Regions from separate parts of the Homo sapiens genome. Here region 1 is linked to region 2. Evidence: promoter capture Hi-C in human tissues and cell types (Jung and others, 2019). All regions are on one chromosome and are shown on one strand. The core of a region is centred on a gene start or on the middle of the fragment in contact, and the rest is flanking DNA. Distances in the headings are between cores, read along the strand shown. Region 1 overlaps LOC122539213 (KHDC1-KHDC1L). Region 2 holds the start of KCNQ5 (potassium voltage-gated channel subfamily Q member 5).

Region 1 (5,705 bases), core at 2,031-4,530, 620 kb before region 2:
TAGCCTGGTGTGGTGGCACATACCTGTCATCCCAGCTGCTTAAGGTGGTCACTGGGGTTGCAGCATTGCTTGAGCCCAGGAGGCGGAGGTTGCGGTAAGCCAAGATCATACCGCCACACTCCAGCATAGGTGACAGAGTGAGACTCTGTCTCAAAAAAAACAAAACAAAACAAAAACAAAACAAAAAAAACTCAGGTTGTTTACAGACTGTCACACAGACTGCCAAAATAAATTGTCTACACAAAATGGCCACTTTTTTCTTTCTAGAATTGAATTGTTCAGTTAGTCCTGAGGCCTAGCCCAGTGCCTTAATAATTATTTGTTGAAAAGTGAATGAACATCTTTTTATTTTATTTTATTTTATTTTATTTTATTTTTGAGATGGAGTCTCGCTCTGTCACCCAGGCTGGAGTGCAGTGGCGTGATCTCGGTTCACTGCAAGCTCTGTCTCCCAGGTTCACGCCATTCTCCTGCCTCAGCCTCCTGAGTAGCTGGGACTACAGGTGCCTGCCACCACGCCCAGCTAATTTTTTGTATTTTTAGTAGATACGGGGCTTCACCGTGTTAGCCAGGATGGTCTCGATCTCCTGACCTCATGATCCACCTGCCTCAGCCTCCCAAAGTGCTGGGATTACAGGCGTAAGCCACCGCACCCAGCCATGAAATTCTTTTTAATGGCTAGGAATGTATTCTAATATTGAAATAAAAATAACCTGTAAAGAAGTGAAGCACATTCTAGTTTGCTAGGCATACAAAGATAAATGTATATCCCTGACCTTTGGACAATAATCAACATTGCTTTTACTAAAAATTTCCTAGGGAAAAAGTCTCATGATTGTCAAAGGTACCATAGTATTTCTAACTCCAATCAAACTTCTGGCAAAGGTCTGTGTATACCTTAGTACAGTTTAAGGAGTCTGAGTTGTCATTTTCTTTCGTCTTTCTTTTCTCTTCTTTTTTTGAGATGGAATCTTGGTCTGTCACCCAGGCTAGAGTGCAGTGGCGTGATCTCGGCTCACTGCAACCCCTGTCTCCCAGGTTCAAGCGAGTCTGGTGCATCAGTCTCCCTGGGATTATAGGAATGCCACCACGCCTGGCTAATTTATTGTAGTTTTAGTAGAGATGGGGTTTTGCCATGTTGGCCAGGCTGGTCTCGAGCTATTGGCCTCAAGTGATCCACCTGCTTCAACCTCCCAAAGTGCTGGGATTACAGACGTAAGCCACTGCGCCCGGCTGAGCTGTCATTTTCTAATGAGCTGTAAGCAATGATCCCACTGAAGGATCCCTGTCTGAAGTATTTTCATGGGGAAGCTGGAAAAAAAAAAAGAGAAAACAACAGGGTAGGTGCGATGGCTCAAACATGTAATCCTAGCACTTTGGGAGGCGAGGCAGGCAGATCACTTGAGGTCAGGAGTTCAAGACCACCCTGGCCAACATGGTAAAACCCTGTCTCTATGAAAAATACAAAAATTAGCTGGGTGTGGTGGCGTATGCCTGTAATCTTAGCTATTTAGGAGGCTGAGGCATGAGAAACAGTTGAACCTGGGAAGCAGAGGTTGCAGTGAGCCAAGATCATGCTACTGCACTTCAGCCTGGGCGATACAGTGAGACTCCATCTCAAAAACAAACAAAACAAAGCAAAAAAACACCAAAAAACCAAGAATGATGCTAAATGGATTTGTGTGTGTGTGTGTTTTGCTACCATATTTCCTGTTCAATAGGGTCAATATTTATTTTCCCATAGAGAATGTCCTCTGAAGCCTTAAGATATGTTCTGTATGTGGAACTACTCTTTATTGTACTGAACCAATAATTGAATATCAGCTATGTCATTTTCATTTAAACGTAAAATTTTGTTTTTTGAATAGATAATTTCTTTATTGGGTTCAAAATTCAAAAAATGCTTTTAGTGAAAAAGATACCCTCCAAGTCCTGTCCTTCAGCTATACAGTATCATTTCTTGTAGGAAATCTGTTTCTAATTCCTTGTATACCCTTGGTTCTCAGATAAATACGCATATACAATGTCTTCTTTTTTATATTCAGATTGCATCATACAATATACTCTTTAGCACCTTGCCTTTTTAAAAACTTAACAATAGGTCTGGCAGAGGGTTGCATTTTAGAGCAGAAACACTTTCTCATAATTTCTTATAGCTATATAGTGTTCCATTGTATGGATATAGCATTCAACCCATTCCATATTGATGGACTTTTAGGTTATTTCCAACCTTATGTTGTAACAAACAATACTGCAGTACTGCAATGTGTATATGTCATTTTGCACATGTGTGAATATATTTGTGGGATAAATTGCTAAAAGTGCATTAATGGATATAGCCAAGTTTCCTTCCTAATTGTTGACAGTTTATACTTCTACCACATGTGTATGAGTATCTATTTCCTTACACTCTCACCAATAATGAGTATCAAATATTTTTAATTTTTGTCAGTCTTATTGATAGATGAAAAATGGTTTCCTAGTGCTGCTTTAATTTGCGTTTATCTTATTACAAGTGGCACTGAATATCTTCTTATTGGATTCCCATATGTGTTTTCCAATGCCTTTTCATTCATATGTATACACAATTTATATTGCACTTTCTGTGACCTGTCTATTTAGGCTGTTGTCCATTAGGTTGTTATTGATTTGTAGTACCTCTTGATATATTATAAATATTAGTGTGTTGTTTGTAAAATAAGCCACAAATACTTCTTTCCAGTGTGTCCTTTGTTTTTTACATTGTTTGGGTGGTATTTGCTATGTAGATATTTTTAATGTCTATGAGGTGAATTCATGAATCTTTTTATGTTTATTGCCTCTGGATTTTGTTTAGTTCTTAGGAATGCCCTCCTCATCCCATGACTATAAAATATTTGGTAGTGGTTTCCTCTGGCATGGTTTGGGTTTTCTTTTTTACATTTAAATAATATTATTTAAATGTATTCCTGAGATGTGATTTGATTTAGGTTGTTAGGTATGGGTCAAATGGGTTTTTATTATTTTTATTATGTATATATTTTAATGTAATTTAATTTTTTTTTTTGGAGACAGAACCTCTGTCACCCAGGCTGGAGTGCAGTGGTATGATCATAGCTCACAGCAGCCTCAAACTCTTGGGCTGCAGTTATCCTCCCACCTCAGCCTCCTGAGTAGTTGGGATTACAGTTGCACACCACCATGCGTATAATTTTTATAATTTTTTTAGACAAGGGGTTTCACCATGTTGGCCAGGCTGGTCTTAAACTCCTGAGCTCAAGTGATCTGTCCCCCTTGGCCTCCCAAAGTGCTGGGATTACATGTGTGAACCACTGTGCCTGGCCTGCAGTGATATTTCTGTCAAACCTGAGAAATACACTGGGGAGAAATCCAATACATATAATAAAATAAAAAATTATGATCAAGGACACTAGACTTAATGTTGAATCAGAGAACCTATAGTAGAGAAAAATACTATAGGTAATATATAAGGCCAATCATTGGCCCACTAGATGGAAAACTTTTATAGCTAGCCCATGTGAAGTTTCAGTCCTGTCTTAATTTATTAAGTATCACTGAATGTACACTGGAAAATATAAACGTATCAATCAGAAATGTTTTAATGTCTTTTCATTCTATTTTGGACGTGAGGAAATCACTTTTTAGTGAGTTGCAACTATACTAAAGTCATAGATTCAGCTATTTTGCACTGAAGGAAGTACACAGTTCTATGACAAAAAAAATTTAAATTAAATTGTATCCGCTGGGCAAGGTGGCTCACACCTGTAATCCTAGGACTTTGGGAGGCCAAGGCAGATTGATCACCTGAGGTCAGGAGTTTGAGACAAGCCTGGCCAACATGGTGAAACCTTGTCTGTACTAAAAATACAAAAATTTGCTGGGCGTGGTGTAATCCCAGCTACTCGAGAGGCTGAGGCAGGAGAATTGCTTGATCCCAGGAGGTGGAGGTGGAGGTTGCAGTGAGCTGACATTGCGCCATTGCACTCCAGCCTGGGCAACAGAGCAAAATTCTTTCTCAAAAAAAAAAAAAAAAAAGAAAAAAAATTGTATCCTTAAGTGATGATTTTGTTGGAAATTTTTTTTATAGATATCATAGTGTATTCAAAGTAAATTAGCTCTTCCTGGTGATTCAGAGCAACAGTCAGGCAAGCTTTTTCTATAAAGTGCCAGATAGTAAATATTTTACGTTCTGTGTCATGCAGTCTCTGTCGAAACTACTCACTCAATGATTACAGTGCAAAATTAGTCAGAGGGAATACATAACTGAATGGTACTGCACTGTCCCAATATAACTTTATTTATAAACACAAAATGAATTGTACATAATTTTATGTGTAAGAAAAAATAATTTGTTTTTTGATTTTTTAGAGCCATGTAAAAATGATTCCTGGCTGGGCGCAGTAGCTCACACCTGTAATCCCAGCACTGTGGGAGGCCGAGGTGGTTTGATCACCTGAGGTGAGGAGTTTGAGACCAGCCTGGCCAACACGGTGAAACCTCGTTTCTACTAAAAATACAAAAATTAGCTGGGTGTGGTGGTGTACGTCTGTAATCCCAGCTACTCGGGAGGCTGAGGTAAGAGAATTGCTTGAACCCGGGAGGCAGAGGTTGTAGTGAGCTGAGATCGCGCCAGTGTACTCCAGCCTGGACAACAAGTGTGACAGTCCATCTCAAAAAAAAAAAAAAAAAAAATTTCTAAACCACAACCTATACAAAAAACAGGCATGAGAAATTGTGGAAGACAGTGTGGTGATTCCTCAAGGATCTAGAGCCAGAAATACCATTTGACCCAGCAATCCCATTACTGGGTATATACCCAAAGGATTATAAATCATTCTATTATAAAGACACATGCACACATGTATTTATTGCAGCACTATTTACAATAGCAAAGACTTGGAACTAACCCAAATGCCCATCAATGATAGACTGGATAAAGAAAATGTGGTACATATACACCATGGAATACTATGCAGCCATAAAAAAGAAGGAATTCCTGTCCTTTGTAGGGACATGGATGAAGCTGGGAGCCATTGTTCTCAGCAAACTAACACAGGAACAGAACCAAATACTGCATGTTCTCACTGATAAGTGGGAGTTGAACAGTGAGAACACATGGACACAGGGAGGTGAGCATCACACACCTGGGCCTGCCGGGGGTGATGAGCAAGGGGAGGGAGAGCATCAGCACAAATACTGAATGTATACAGGGCTTAAAACCTAGATAAGGGGTTTATGGGTGCAGCAAACCACTATGGCACATGTATACTATGTAACAAACCTGCACATTCTGCACATGTAGCCCAGAATTTAAAGTAAAATTTAAAAAAAAGAAAAAAAAGGAAAAGCATTAGTCCTATCTATGTCCTAAATAGTACAAAACTTCAGTAAATAAAAGGCTGTGTTTTATTAATGCATGAATGGAAAGACAAATCAATGGAATAGAATAGAAAACCAAATATACCCCCACATATATGCATAAAAATTTAATATTTGATAAGATGATTCAGATTAATGTGGAAAGGCAGATTACTCAATCAGTGAATGAGTAATCATTGTGATAAACAAGCAAACCATTTAAAAATCCATTTGAGGTCAGGCAGAGTGGCTCACATGTGTAATCCCAGCAATTTGGGAGGCACAGGAAGGGGGATTGCTTGAGCCTGGGAGTTTGAGATCAGCCTGAGAAGATGGTGAGACCTTGT
Region 2 (5,206 bases), core at 160-2,659:
TCATTTTCTCATTAAGCATTCTCTGCTAGATGGAGAAGGCTTACTACACACACACACACACACACACACACACACACACACTCTTTGACTCCGCGCCACAAACGGGGACTTAACCCACTGCCCGATCTCTGTCAGAGGCGACCCATTTGCGCTTCTGCTATCGCACCTCCGCCCGCGTTCCTGCGCCCCAGGTTCCCCGCTGCCTCCCCGCCCCCTGCAGCGCGGGAGCGTTGCTTCGCCTGGCCTGCTGGCCTCCTCTAGACCTTGGCCACCTTCTCCGTGGCAGGAAGGGCTACATGCACTGACAGATTTTCCGTTGGTGGTGGCTGGGTGGTGGCGAGGCGTGTTTCCGGGCGCGCTTAAAACCTAGCAGCTCTCTCCAAGTAGCAGCTTCCCCTACTCCGCCCCTAGGACTGAGGACCTAGCCCTCGATGCCCCCTCACTTCTCCCCGTCCTACCCCGCCATCACCTCCTAACCTCTCCAGTATACTCTCAAGCCTCACACGGGCGCCTGTCCTCCCTTTGCATTCCCTAGCTCCCGGGCGCCCCGTTCGGTTGAAGTTTACGTATCTTGGGACCTAATTGCTCCCAATTATCCGCGCAGCCTAAGTCCCGCGTCTGCCTGGCTCTCGCCCCGGGAGCCTGAAGCTACCGGGCAGTTCATTGGGTGTCCTCGGGGAAAAGGTTCAAGCTGTAGAGATGAGAGAAGTGGGGCTGGGGGAGGGGAGAGGCTCCAGAAGGAAGACCACGAACACGTGCGAAGAAATAAAAGCCACCACGTGTGCACGCGCGCGGGGGCCCAAGGGCGCGAGCGCGGAGCACGCCCCAGGGGGCCAGGGACAGTGGTCCCCTGCAGCGGGCATAGCAGGGGGCGCGGGTACTCACACGAAAGCGTGGTAGATGAACGCCCAGCCGCGGGGTCTCTCCAGCACGTTGTACAGGTAGTTCTGCACCCGCCGGTACTTGACGTTGCGCCGGCAGCTCTGGCTACTCGTGTAAGAGAGCGGCTTCCCCAGCAGGCTCATCCGGGCCCCCTGCTTGCCCCGGCGGCTCTCCCTCAGGCCACCGCCGCCGCCACCGAGCGTGGCCGCGCGGGTGCCCAGCAGTAGCAGGCCGTCGCCCCTGGCGGCTGCCGAGTTCAGCAGCACCCTGCCCCGGCCGGACTCCACATCCTTCATGCCGCTGCCCAAGCGCCCCCCGCCCGCCGCCGCCGCCGCTGCGCCGCTCTTCACCCAGAGCCCGGCGGCGCCGCCCTCCTCTCCTCCCGCGTGGTGGCGGGGCATGGCATCACCACGGGCACCGCGAGGGGGCCGCCAGCGCCTGCGGCGGGGGCAGCGGCCTCATGTGCGCCGGCGGGTTTCAAGGAGGAAGCCGGCGGCCGACGGGGCGCCCGCCAGCCAGAGACCTCTGAGCCGGGGGCGGGGAAGCAGGCAGCCAGCAAACCGCCCGGGCTTCGGGGCGGGAAAGGAGGGGCTGCAGAGGAGGCCGAGGAGTCCCAATTTCTAACAGCCTTTAGCTTCGAATTCTAAATCCGGACCTGTTTGGGGCGTCACTTTGAGAGGGTTTCTCTTGCTCCCTCATTCCCGCGACTACCACTCCCTCCTTCCCAAACTGCCCCCGGGGATAGAGTGGGGGAGTGCGGGGCGCTCCGAGGCGCGCTCCCACGCGCGCACACCCAGCCCCAGGCTTCCCCTTCCCTCTCTCCACTCCCCACGCCCTGCAGCGAAACGGCCCCAGAAGCCCCTCTCCGAGGCGCGAGTTCGGTTTGGTTCTGGCAGGGGCTTTGCAGCTGTCCGGAAGGTGAAGTCAGCCTTGTGTCCTGAGGAGAAACTGGAGATGCAGGTCGCTGTGCCCTCCCGCTGCTACGTCGCTGCGCCGGATCCTGCCATCCTTCCGCAAGGGGTGAGAGCGGGAACAGCCCTGCCCTGCCTTCCAGGTATTATCTAGCCTGGAGGCTGGAGCGCAAGGTAACGCTCCGGGAAGTGGCACTCGGGTCCCCGCACACGGGCGAGTCCTCAGCAGTTCAGTGGACAGACCCGCAGGACGCGGCTGCCAAGTCCGCGAGGCAAGGACCAGGCATCTTCCCGCGCCTCACTCCAGCCTGCGGACTGTGACTTTCCATCCCAGTATCAGACAAGCTCGCGAGTAACTGAACATCCTTTCCAGTCCATGGGTGGGGTGTGGAAAGGGCGTAAAACTCCAAAGTGGCTCCTCCGCGGTGAGCGAGCTGCCCCGGGGCTCTGCCTGACTGCAGCGCGAAGCCTGGGAGAACAAACCCAGTTCCCTCCGTCAAGAAATTTCCATTTAAGTCCGAGAAAGTCATATGATTGAGAAGTTCAGCAGCGGCGGCGAGGACCCAGTGTCTGGGAAAGAACACCTGGAGGATGGGGTGTCCAGGACGCCGGCTTTTCGGGGTTCCGACCCCACCCACCTTATGTTGTAACATACAAGCTTAGAGACCTGTTGCAAGGAACAACTGACTGGGTCTTCCACCACCCCTGGCACCCGGGTGGCCCAAAGCCTATGCGCCCTTGGCGGAGAGAGAGGCCACGGTGCCACTGGCCGCAGCCTCTGGCCTTCAGAAACAGTGTATTACAAAGAAAAGGCAGTTTAAATCTCACATTCAGCATAGGGAAAACTGAAGGGTGCCAGGCTCGGGGACTTCTTCCAACAGAGTGGCTCTTCCCCAAATATGAAAGAAAATCATCAAATTAAATTGAAGGCAAAACTAAGCTTCCACCACAAAGACATAGCAGATAGTTGCAAGGTGGATTCCTTCGGGCCTTTTCCTTTCCTAAGGCTAAAACAATGCTAAGACAAAAGTCTTCTTGCAGCTGTCTCCGCCCCTCCGAGATAAATACTTTCCCAATTCTCCCCCACCCTGTACACACACCCACGCCCGCGGCAGCTGATTTCTGTCTTCTGCAATAGCTCGATTTAAATGCTTTGCTTTTACTCTTTATTATCACTATTATTTGTGTGAAGCCCTCTCGCCTGCTCCTGGTCACCAGCAGGAGCCTGCTTCCCTCCCTCCTTCCCCCCAAGCCTCTGGGCAGCAGAAGCTAGCTGGGAGCTCTGTGCAGCTGGCGGCGACGCCATGTGACTGTGAGCCGAGCACCATCACCCAGAGTCACTCTCTAGCTTTCCCCTAATACACTTCACACCCACGCACTGTGGAGGTGCGAGAGAGGTTGCTCCGTGCGGTGCTATTCGAGGCAGATGCAGAGAGCGCCCTGGAGTAAGCTCTCCAATCCTAGAGCTGCGCGGGACCCTGACTGAAGGCGGAGGGGGCGGGAGGGGGTGCTGTTGCTATATTTAGACTCCCTATGGAGTTTCTGTGCAGGGACTTTCAGGGTGAAAGATCTAGAGACTTAAAATGACTCGTGTGCCCGCTTTAAACGTCAAAATCTTGGCCTTTCTGCAAGCAGTAAAATGAAAACCACTTCCTCTTAACTTAGCTGTTTTCCTTGTTGCAGACTGCTACTTTCGCTGGGTAGGTAAAGTCACTTCCATCTCTCTGGCGCGGCTGGGCCCCGCGTGCAGGCAAGAAGTCTCAGGAAGGCAGGACACAGGGACACGTTTCCCTGGAAGACAGCCAGCTGTTTAATTTCTAAGTGATGCTTTTCTGGGGATGCAGCATTAGTTCTAGTGAAACTGTATTATTGATTAAGCAAATGCCATTTAAGCTTAATTAAAAAATAAAAAAGACCCGGTTACTGGTAGCCGTTTTGAGCTGCTGAGAAGGACCTTTCACTTATGTCTTCTAGAGTAACCGCCATTTGGATACACAGCCCAGAAAAAGAGGGCCTGCTCAAGTTTTCGCGGGTAGTGTGAGAGTTACTAGGAATCCAACAACCTGGCTTCCTAGTTCACTGTTCCTTCCACCAATCAATCTGCATCTCCAGCAGAGAATGGATAAAATAGCAAACAGTTCTGGGGTTTTGTATCAATCTCTGACTGCAACCATTGGGAAAGACTGGCTTAGCTGAAGTTCTAACCTTCCTACCTTTCAATGCCCAGAAAGAAAAAGCCAAGTGAGTCTGTGCCAACCTCTCCTACAAGAGCCTCTGTTTGCACCTTGCTTTATTTGCTACCTGCTAACTTCCCTCAAAAGACGGGAATTAACTTTGGAGAAAATAAGGTGTTTGCGATTAAGCTTTGTTGTTGTTCCTTTGAATACAGACGTTGCTAGGAAACTGCCTTTTATTAGTTCGTTTTGCTGAAATATTAAAATTCAAATTTAGAAAAGAGGATAGGCATACTGAGCAGTGAGTAAAACAGTGTATATTCTATGCATTATAATTACATTAGAGCATTATGAAGAGGTAAAGGCAAATGTTAACTGCTAGTGTAAAGTATGTGAGTTGATTGGCCCTCCCCATCTTTTGAGATGTGTTTGCTTTTACTCATTCATTCTCTTAAGATGCTTGCCTGAAATTTATGACCTTGGAAACATTTTCTGAAGTCTACATGGATATGGTTTCAACTGAACATAGTTTCTAGAGATATTTTATTTTAGTGTGTTTCTTTTTCTTTTTTGGAGATGGGGTCTTGCTGTTTTGCCCAGGCTGGTCTCCAACTCCTGAACTCAAGCAATTCTTCCACCTCAGCCTCTCAAAGTGCTGGGATTACAGGCGTGAGCCACTGCTCCTGGCCTCAGTGTGTTTTCTATCCCATTGTATTATTCTTCTGAAAGGTACTCTGAAATAATAATATTTGAAATTCTATACATGAGCTAGAGATGCACAAAAAAAAGACTTTCAATGCTCATAAGAGGGGCAGAATAACTGGATCTGGACGAGTTTCACAAAGCATCAATGACTCACTCTCCCACTTTCCTTCTTCTTCATGCCTACCCATTTTCTCATTTGCGCCTATCTCCTACTACAAGATACGCTCTTTAGTAGCCACTCTTTAGTGATATGGGTGCATATTGATCCATTGTGAAATTCCTGGGCTAATCAGACAGGGAATGATAAATAGAATTCTTAAACCCTATAATAAAAAGGAAATGCATGTGACATGAGTCTGCTTGGGAAAATAATGAAGGGGCAAATATAAAACTTAAAAAGTAGAAAATAATCAACAAAAAGAAAATGCACTAATGGAGAAATGGAAATTCATGATTGGCTGCTGTTTAATGATGTGCACAGGGCTCAGCAATTTGCCTTGTAAGCTTAGGGGTAGAACTGAAGTCTCCAGACTC

What was found. Contacts are between HindIII fragments. The study calls those that stand out against the background at their distance.
Region 1: a fragment that was not itself captured here is called in contact with the fragment with the promoter of KCNQ5 in region 2 in 1 of the 25 tissues and cell types used here (mesenchymal stem cells).

What each region holds. Positions count from the first base shown.
Region 1 is chr6:73,234,813-73,240,517 of GRCh38, reverse strand. The region is part of intron 4 of LOC122539213 (KHDC1-KHDC1L); the gene reads left to right. Among named protein-coding and RNA genes, the nearest start is that of KHDC1L, 12 kb to the right of the region's middle. The HindIII fragment of the contact is 7,944 bases long and covers 1-5,705 here.
Region 2 is chr6:72,618,267-72,623,472 of GRCh38, reverse strand. It overlaps KCNQ5 (potassium voltage-gated channel subfamily Q member 5), which reads right to left and starts at 1,409. Exons shown (of 14, transcript NM_019842.4): 1 at 886-1,409. The coding sequence starts at 1,283. It overlaps KCNQ5-DT (KCNQ5 divergent transcript), which reads left to right and starts at 794. Exons shown (of 3, transcript NR_186827.1): 1 at 794-941. RefSeq lists silencers at 75-124, 1,155-1,414 and enhancers at 1-724, 2,835-3,024. The HindIII fragment of the contact is 7,455 bases long and covers 1-3,210 here.